Linked DNA regions of Homo sapiens: region 1 is linked to region 2. The links are contacts of gene promoters, found by promoter capture Hi-C in human tissues and cell types (Jung and others, 2019). All regions are on one chromosome and are shown on one strand. Each heading gives the region's core, a stretch centred on a gene start or on the middle of the fragment in contact. The rest is flanking DNA. Distances are from core to core; before and after follow the strand shown. Region 1 overlaps HHAT (hedgehog acyltransferase). Region 2 holds the start of SLC30A1 (solute carrier family 30 member 1).

The links. Contacts are between HindIII fragments. The study calls those that stand out against the background at their distance.
Region 1: a contact is called between a fragment that was not itself captured here and the fragment with the promoter of SLC30A1 in region 2, in 1 of the 25 tissues and cell types used here (hippocampus).

Annotation. Positions count from the first base shown.
Region 1 is chr1:210,352,144-210,357,223 of GRCh38, forward strand. The region is part of intron 2 of HHAT (hedgehog acyltransferase); the gene reads left to right. Among named protein-coding and RNA genes, the nearest start is that of HHAT, 26 kb to the left of the region's middle. The HindIII fragment of the contact is 5,250 bases long and covers 10-5,080 here.
Region 2 is chr1:211,577,011-211,582,040 of GRCh38, forward strand. It overlaps SLC30A1 (solute carrier family 30 member 1), which reads right to left and starts at 2,151. Exons shown (of 2, transcript NM_021194.3): 1 at 981-2,151. The coding sequence starts at 1,602. RefSeq lists silencers at 781-1,130, 1,631-1,940, 2,181-2,740 and enhancers at 1,241-1,350, 1,323-1,824, 1,825-2,324. The HindIII fragment of the contact is 26,870 bases long and covers 1-5,030 here.

The DNA.
Region 1 (5,080 bases), core at 1,385-3,884, 1.2 Mb before region 2:
GGTTCCTTTGCGGATAGTACAAAACTTTTCTGCACCTTAACCTGTCCAGATGCTGTCATGCTGACCACCTCCTAGCCTGAAGCTTCTTTAATCCTTAATGCCTTTCCTTTTATTGTCAGTGCTGAAGTGTTTCTCAGGCCATTCCCAAGAAATATCTTCCTCAAATGCTTTTGCCAGTTTACCTCACGGGAGCCAGATCCCCATGCCATGCCTAAGTATGTTCAACTGATACAATGTTGAGCCTTCTTGGTTCCTCATCTCACTTTCTAATTCAGGAAAAAGTGCTACTTACCCACATTGTAGAAGTAGGTCACTGGAAAAATCGTCTTTACTCTGAACTTTTTTAGGGCATTCATGTCTGGAGCAAACGTGCTGCCTAGAATAGACTAGAGGCTCCAAGTGTATTTGTTCAGTGAAATGTCTCTGGTGGGCATCTGCGTGGCTACTCTCCTTGGGCACAGAGCAGGCATCTCATTCACTGCTGTCTCTATCAGCAGTAGTGGGGTTGTCACGTGGTTGGGGACAGCAGACTGATTTTAACAGCCTTAGTCAAATGGAATCTCTCAGCAAATCCACAGCAGGGACTCAACAGAATACCCCTTCTTCCCCCCAACTCTACCAAATTAGAATATCTTGAAGTCATATGGAAATATTGGGGTGGTGATAGTGATCCGCTATGCTGGCTGACCTCGCCCCTGGTGCTCTGCAGTACTGTGGCTAATCCACAGCTGTTGCATTAGGTTGGTGCCTTATGGTTTAGTAGACATAAAACTTTTTGTCTCTGTTTACTTTTTTTTTTTTTTTTAATAAGAGATGGAGTCTTGGTCTGTCACCCAGGCTGGAGTGCAGTGGCGCAATCTCGGCTCACTGCAACCTCTGCCTCCCAGGTTCAAGCAATTCTTCTGTCTTAGCCTCCTGAGTAGCTGGGACTACAGGTGCATGCCACCATGCCTGGCTAATTTTTGTATTTTTAGTACAGACAGGGTTTTACCATGCTAGTCAAGCTGGTCTCGAATTCCTGACCTGGGGTAATCCACTCCCCTCAGCCTCTCAAAGTGCTGGGATTACAGGCATGAGCCACCACGCCCGGCCCCTCTCTGTTTACATTTAATGTGAAAATGCAATGTACCATGCATCAGAAGGCTTGTGTGATAGGCCTTGAACGAATTGATGCCTCTGCCTAAAAGGATGCCATATATTTTTCTGGCCATGTCAATTTAATGCAATATTCGGAATAAAAACTATTGAATTCCCATCATGGAAAATCCCGGTGATAGAAGGAAGTCACCTGTTTTTTTTTTTTTTTTTTTTAAAAAAAAGCACCTGGGAGGGGAAGTCTTTGACTATTTCAGTTTACCACCTATTCGTTCTTATTTAAATGTTTTATTTCTTCTTGTACCCATCTTGACATTTTATAGCTTTCTAGGAAATCTATATACTTTATGTAGGTTTTCAGTTTGATTAGTATATTGTGGTTCTTAACTCTTACTTAAAAATTTTTTGGTGTTTCATTATTTTATATTTTATCTGCATCATCTTCACTCCCTTCATTTCCTCTTTCCACTTCTCCCTCCCTTCTATTTTTTCTTTCTTTGATCAACGGTGCCAGAGATCTTATTAATCTTTTCAGCATTTGGCTTTATTTTCTCAGTTGTTTCTTTTTGTTTTCTAACTCATTGATTTTTGCCCTTATCTCATTATTTCCTTCCTTATTGTTTCTTTAGGTTTGGTCTGTTCCTTTTTATTTCATTGTCATGAGTTGAATGCTTAGCTCATTTACTTTGTAAAGAATGTGTTTGGATTGTTGATTGTTTTTCTCAGAAAGATTTCTAGAAGAGGAGTTATAGAGTAAAACCACACAACCATTTTTCAGGTGCTTAATAGATGAACCCAGGCTGTTCTCAGGAAGGCTGGGCCAATTAACGCTTCCAAAGGAGGAGATCCATTTTTCTGTACTACTCTCAGCAAGTTGAGTGCTCTTCAATCCATCTCAAGTGTATTTTAGTATATGATGTGATATTTTTTCACAAATAGATAACTAAACATAATGTCTTTTTTTTTTTTTTTTTTTTTTTTTTTGAGACAGAATCTTGCTCTGTTACCCAGGCTGGAGTACAGTGGCACGATCTCTGCTCACTGTAACCTCTGCCTCCTGGATTCAAGCAATTCTCATGCCTCTGCTTCCTGAGTAGCTGGGATTACAGGTGTGTACCACCACACCCTGCTAATTTTTGTATTTTTAGTAAAGACAGGGTTTCTCCATGTTAGTCAGGCTGGTCTCAAACTCCTTGGCCACCCAAAGTGCCGGGATTACTGGTGATTATGATAATTATGATGCAATCTTGATCATGTACTGAGTTCTTTTGTTAAAATTTATTTTTATTTTTTATTTTATAAAAAGAGAGACAAGCTCTCTCTATGTTGCTCAGACTGGTCTCAAACTCCTGGACTCAAGCGATCTTCCTGCCTCGGCCTCCCAAAGTGCTGAGATTACATACATGAACAAGGGTGCCTGGCCTCACATATTAAATTCTTATATTCTGTTTAATTGATTTCTCAATCAATTCTTACATCAATACTGTGCCGTTTTAATTATTTTTGATTTACAAAATGCCTAAGTATCTGGAGTAAGTTATTAGTTATTGGTTCTTTGTTTTCAGATCTTTCTTAGGCTGTTCTTACTGGCTTATTCTTCCAGATATATATTTGAAATTGGCTACTTTCAAAAAATCATTAGGGTTTTAATTAGAATTGTAATAAACTTATAAATTAATTTGTAAATAATTGATATTTTTATAATGTGTCTTTCTATCCAATAATATATTTTTTCTTTGCTTATTCAAAATCTTTCATCACTTCCCTTAATGAAGGTTTGTGGTTGTCTTCATAATAGATTCTGCTAAAACTTAAGATTATTTCTGAGTCTTTTCCTTTCTCCTTTTGTGATTGGGATATTTTACAAATTTTCTAGCTGATTATTTCTGATCTACACTAAAGGTATTTATTTTGGTTTATGTATTTTATATTTCAGCAATTTATTGAATTCTCTTATGTTCCATTGGCTTGATTTTCCTTGTCCTTCTATTTAGATAATACCATCCACAGATAATGATAGTAGTTTTGCTTCATTTGTTTTTGCTTTGCTAGGACATCTAGAACAATACAATAGTTGAATGTTAACCTGTTTTAATTCTGACTTTAATGGAAATCTCTGTATAGTGAAAGGTTGAACAAGCTTTACTTACTTGTTTTTAAAAACTCATGTTAAGGAATCCTAGCCCCTTTAAATTGGCAATAAGTGTTGAATTTTATTTGTTTTTAAAGTACCTATTCCTTTTTTGACCTATTGATACTATATTTTAAAGTCATCAGTTTTCCAGAGGCAAACCATACGGATTCATTCCTATTACAAACCTACCGTGACCATGGTATTTTTAAACATACTGCTTTTTTCCCTAGGGTTAAAAAATATATGGATTTCTAAGTGAGAGTGGTTGGCCTGTAATTTTGTTTTGTCTCATCCCCAAATTTCAATCTTGATATCCTGTTAGCTTTATAAAACAACTGGAGAGGATTCCATTTTAAAAAATATTATGGAACTGTTAAAGTAGTATATGAAATGTCTGCATCAGTGTCTGATGTTATTCACTTCTAAGTTTGTCTAGGCATGAAATCTCTTTGGGAGTAGATTCATTGAAAACTTTTCAGTACCTTTCAGGGTTATTGGTATGTTTTCATTCTTAAGTCAGTTTGAGCAATTCATATTTTTCTATTTCATTATTATTATTTTTGAGACAGTGTCTCATCCTGTTGCTCAGGCTGGAGTGTAGTGGCTCAGTCCTAGCTCGCTGCAAACTCAAGTGCTTGGGCTCAAGTGATCCTCCAACCTCGGCCTCCTAAGTAGCTAGGACTACAGGCACACAGTACCACACTTGCACACTTGCTTGGCTATTTTTTTTTTTTTTTGGAGACAGGGTCTTGCTATGTTGCCCAGGCTGGTCTTAAACCCCTGGCCTCAAGCCAAATCCCAAAGTCCTGGGATTATAGGCATGAGCCACTATGCCTGGCCTGTGAAAATTATTTTCTAATGAAAAGCAGCTACCCTAGAACCTTCTGATTTTGCAGAGCCCAGGCACATCTTCTTTTATGAAGCAGCTATGTTCCTGAAAAGTTGCATATTAATGACATTTTTATAAATGAAATTGTGCTTCCCGTTGATTTGCGTTTTCATGTCACAGGCTTTTTTTTTCATTTTTTTAATATTCAGTGATATATCTGTAGTTAATGTTTCTTTAAATAAACTCTAGCACCGGGGAGCCCTCATATTTAAAGAGCTTTTGCTTTTTCTGGTGCGAAGTATTTATTTGAATCACTACTCCCTGTTTCTTTGTTTTTATATAGTTGTTCTTAAAGTGGGATACAGCTAGTATAACGGAACACATTCACCTTCTACCTTTTGTTTATTTCTTTATAAACCTGTGGCCTTCATTATTACTAAGCTCGATTTATGAAGAAAGGATACAGAAGCTCATTTATAGATTAGTTCTTTCTTTTACATTCTTCATGCAACATGCTAACCTCTTACGGGTCATGGGCTTTGTTAGGAAGTAATTTTTCCCACTGACTTCTGTGATTAGAGGAACGTGGTTGCAAGATGATCAGTAACTCTGAAGAACCCAGTCCAGGGTGGGAAAACAGAGGCCACTGGTCCTGTCCTTGAACCAGGTGTCCTTGCTCTTGGAACCAGGTGAGCTGACTGAGTATGTCTGGGGCCACCAGGGGCCCTTCAGTTTACAAGGCTTTGTGAAAAGACCCAATTGAACTTCTCCTGTAGGAGCTGGGAACTGGACAGCCTGTCTTGAAGCATTAACAGTGAGTGTTGTGGAACAACCAAGGCTCCAAACATTCTGTTTGGTGATGCTTCACATTATATTTGGCTGTGGTTTCCATTGTTATCTATGGCCAGGGTCTTAGGAAACAGTTGAATCACTGTCTTCCTATTGGAATGGATCCCAAGTCTTGTAGCCTATCCCTTCCTCCTTGCACTGGCATTTTCCTCCTGGGTTAACACTGGTCCTTC
Region 2 (5,030 bases), core at 901-3,400:
TTGCCGAGTGGAGTGAGAGGAAAACCAATTACTTATTAAACCTTTCCAATGTACAACTTGAATTTCACTAACTTCATATTCTGCACTCGAAAAGGAAAATTATGTAGCATAATTTATAATGATACAAGGTAAATAAACGTAAGTGAAGGAAATAAGACCAAATTGTTAAGCACCATTGAGCTTGGGTAGTAGGACACTGGTTGAGTCATTTCCATCTCCTTTCTTTCAACATTTATTTTCAAATTTCCTTCAAGAGCACTTAATGTTAAATATAAAAAGCATCCACTAAAAATATAAGATGAATAAATTACCATCACTTTTAGTTCAGTACGATTATGAAAAGTCCTGGGAAAATGTTAAACATGCCCAGACAGGTCCTAAATCTATGATTTCCAGGATTAGGGATCAATTAGCTGAAGCATACACTGCTGTTCATAAAAGAAACCTTTAACCAGGGTTTACACGCTCTGAATGCATATTATGAAACGGAGTTCAATGGGCATAAGAACTACTTTGGCAGAGCAAGGTTTCCAGCACCCAACTACTGGGGACGAATTGGGGATTCTCTCCGTTTCCCAAGAGGGCCAAGGAATTGAATTGGGAAGCATTTCTGACGCTGTTATAACCATAACCAGACAAGTCTCCAGCAAAGTTGCTGCAGCCTGTAAAGACAGCCAAGTGCGGGTGTGGACTGCAGCGGGATGATGATCACCTCCTGACCCTTTTTCTTAGGGTCTGACCCACAGCCCCCACCTACAAATATGCCAGACGCGTCGCCGGCTCCTTGCACCCGACTGAGGGGGTTCTGATTTCCTGGAGCAGCAGCGGGGCGTGTGCAGGACGGGGAGGGAGCAGGCAGGGGCGGCGCGGCGCAGGCCCGCTCGGGCAGCAGGGGGCGTGCGGGCCACCCCGCCGAAGGCCAGGCGAGGCTCTGGGCACCCCAAACCCAACCACCTGCGGCAGCGACTTTCCCGGCTCACCTGCGGGGTCCAATTTCAGCCCGTTGGAGTTGCTGGTATTGGCCACCAGGGTGTTGGTCTCCTCCTGGTCGGGACCCTGCTCGCCCGGGGCCACGTTGATGTCGCTGCTCCCGGGGCGGGTGCTCTTAACGCGAGGCCCCTTGGGGAGGCCGTGGCCGTGGCCGTGACCCCCGTGCGAGTGGCCGTGGCCGGAGTCCTGGCTGAAGCCGCTGTGATGGTGGAAGAGGCAGAGCCCCAGCACGTTGACCAGCAGCCCGGCCACGCCGACCCCAAGGACCACCAGCGGCTGCTGCATCTCGTGCGGCTCGATGAAGCGCTCGATGGCCTCCAGCAGGATGGCGAAACAGAGGCCAGTCAGGAAGATGGCGTTCACCAGAGCCCCCATTACCTCGGCTCGGATCCAGCCGAACGTGTTCTTCTGGGTGGCGTGGGTCCGCCGGGCGAAGCGCTCGGCCACCAGCGCCACCACCAGCGCCAGCACGTCCGACAGCATGTGGAAGGAGTCGGAGAGCATCGCCAGCGACGAGGTCACCCGGCTCACCACCACCTCCAGCACCATGAACATGAAGGTCAGCGCCAGCATGCACAGCAGCCGGCCCCGGTTCCGACCCCAACACCCCATGGCTGCGGCTGCGGGGCCCGCCGAGCCCGGCCCGGAGACTGGTGCAGCGGCGGCGTTGGCGGGACGCGGAGGGTCGGCGACCGCGACACGGAGGAGCGCCCGAGTCGGGCCGTTCGGGAAACCGCTGAGGGGCCCCCGCGGCCGCACGGGGACAAGCCCGGGTCAAGCCGCCGAGCCCCGCGCCTGTGGGCGTTCTCCGCCAGCCGGCGGCGCCGCGCCGCGCAGCTCCTCAGGCGTCCGTCCTCAGAGCCGGCGCCGAGGCCCGGCTCAGCCTCAGCAGCCCCCACACCCAGGCGGCGGCGGTGGCGGGGAGCTGGGCTCCCGGAGCCGGGGTACCAAGAGCCGCAGCCGGAGCAGGAGCAGGAGGGCGGCGGGCGAGGGCGGCAGGAGAGGGCGACGGGCAGCTTCGCGCCGAGAAAGCTCCGAGCATCTGAGGGCTCTGCTTGCTGGTCTCCTCTGCGGCGGCTGGACTGAGGAGCGGATGGCTGAGGAGCTAGAGAGGCGGCGGCCACGGCAGCTGCACTCGGCCCGGTCTCGGGCGCCTTCTTCGCCCCCCCGCCTTTGCAGACGGTTTACAAAAAAACTTTGCTTTGCACTCGGAACCCCCGTTTTCACACGGACCCGAGCGTGACAAGGCCTTGCCGCCCCGCCCACCAGGCCCGGCACGCTTCCCCATTGGTCAGGACCCCCTCACGACAGCCTCGGCGTCCCGCCCAGCCACGCTCACTATTGGATGGAGCCTCGGAGGGGCGGGAAGGGGGCGGGGTCGCGGCTCCAACAGATAGGGGCGGGGCCTTTTCCTCCCGGAGCCGGGCGTGGGCCGGGGGGCCGTGGCCGGGTGCAGCGGCGGGCGAATTGGGGGCGCGGGCCGCGTGCAGCGGGAGGGGGAGGGGCTGGCCGGGTCCCCTCGGGTGTGGCGGAGTCCTGGCCTGCGGACCATCGCAACTCCCAGCACACCTGCGGGGGCCGGGCTGCAAAGTCTGCAAACAGACTTTGATCCTCCGAGCCCAGTCCACGTGGGGGCGGGCCGCGCGGCGGCTGTGTGACAGCTCGGCGGCGGGGGAGGGGCCGGAGGGGAGCCCCTGAGCGCGGGGCCCTCGAGTACTCGGTCCTGTCGGAGGAGGCCGACAGACGCATAAACAAGTGCGACTGTAACTTGGGACTCTGCTGGACGCCGAGCTGAGGAGTTAGTCCTCCCGAAGGTCTGCTAGGGGCGTGGACCGAATCTTTGTACATGTTTTGGGAAAGCCAGTTTCTCCTATCACCATCAACCCCTGGAGACCTTGTGTGAACTCAGGTGTCTGTCACTGATTATCTAAGGACAGTTCAGGGTACAGACTTCAGGCAGGAGAAACCTGGGCTCTGCTCCTTGCCTTGTCAATAGCCAGCTGTGTGGCTTTGAGCAAGTCACCTAATCTCTCTAGACCTGTTTCCCCATCTATAAAGGACTGGACAAATGCAACTCTGAAGATCCCCGTCTGACTCCAAAATTCTAAGGCTCTATGATTTAACATTTATTTATAGACTACACACGGTGGAATCTTGTGCTGGTTGCTATGGGGAGGTGGAGGGGCAGTAAGAATACAAAGGAACGAGTTTCTGTCCAGGTGGAGGTAAAATATAAACACGACATTTTAAAATTACGATGGAATACTCTTGATAAATTGTGCTATTTTAGACTGAATACATAAGCACTGTGTTGTGGGTGGAGATGAGTTGATCTGGAAAGGAACAGCTTGCCCATCTAAGGTGGGGTGGTGGCTGGAATCAGAGTGGCTTAAGCTGGACCTGAAAGGCCTCACCACAGCCCCTGCGCAGCAGAAGGACCTCCCCACCCACTGCCCTAGATTACTACTGGACAAATGCAGTGCCAGCTATTGCCTGGAGATGTGTATACAAGGCTTGTTTGGAGCTGTTATTTTGCATTGTTTTGGTATTCTTGTAATTCCTATGAAATTTTTTTCACTTGTATGTAGTGTGTTTCTAGTCTCCCCATCCAGACTGGAGAGCTGGATCCTCACCTTCTGTTTCTGTTTTGCTGGAATATAAAGAATGGAGGAAAATTTTCAAGACATTATTAAGGAAAAAATGATAGAATTTGATGATTAATTGGGTATTGGGAAGGAGGAAGCTAGGTAGGAGAACAAAGATAGTTATAATGTTTCTAACCTGACAAGGAAAATACTGCCTTAAACAGGTGAGGAAGTTGGGAAGGGAGGCCAAGAAGCTGATTTTTAGGAGAAAATATGAACTCCATTTTTAATGTGCTTAATTTGAAGTGAAGTCTGGGTTTGGGCAGTGCTAAAGGGTGGATTAATGGGTTTAGGACTTCCATAACTTCCTCTCCTTTGATATGGATGAGTGACAGTTTTCTGATCATCTGTAAACACAGCTTCAAACATCCTATCAACTAGCCCCTCATATACAGAAATTCGGAAGCCACTTATGGGTCAAGATATCCTCATGGAAATGGCCTAGAGGCAGTTTGAAGACCATTTTGCTTTCTACTAAGGGCTGCTGTGCCTCGCTTTATTTAAAAAATACATTCCTCCAAATGCGAAGATTTGATACCCAAAGAAGAACCAATAAGAAGATGTAAAAGTCAGTGATGCTTGCAAACACAATAGCAATCCTTCAATAACTAAACAGACTAAATTGGGAGATTTTTAGACCCATATAAAAACAGGTTCAACTCATAGCCGCTTCTGAAAACCTACTTTGTGCCTGCATTTCAGCCATTTCCCAGACAATGTGCTTTATTCCCTCCTGGTGGGTGGTTGGGGGCGGGGCAGAGGGGGCAGGGAGTACATTTTCCAGGTTCTAGAGAAGTTATAATCATGTTCTCTGGAGAGAGTAATATTTACCACACAGCAGAACACTTCAGTCAGACTTTGTTTCCCTCTAACATTGTGTAGGCAAAAGACTTTGGTACCTCAACTCGAGCTTTTTCCCTTTTCATCTGGTTGTCCTAGTAGAGTGTCAACACAGGCAGGAATAGATTAAAATGAAGGGACACTATACTGTTATTCACCAACACCCCTGGAGGCTGTGGCCCTGGGTTGAGTAAGACGGCTTGGCTTTCTCTTCTTAATGTTTGAGAAATCTCCTGATAACTTGCTTAGTATCCAAACTGACTAAACCCAGCATACTTTAAAGATGAGAGAATAATGCTCTTTTTGGAAAAGAGACTGCCAATTTGAATGAAAGTCAAGGGCTTCAGACAAACTGCAATCTCAAAGCCCTCTGGACCTCTCCTTGCTTTTAATGAAAGTTTAAAATGATCTTGTAAGATTCTCGTAAAAACTGCTAAACACAAACGTACTTCTGAATTTTGGTAATCAAAAATCATGAGTGTATAAAGCTGTACCTTGCTTGGAAAGATAAAATAACAAAACCCTGTGAAAACCACATTATATTTGACTTTGGCT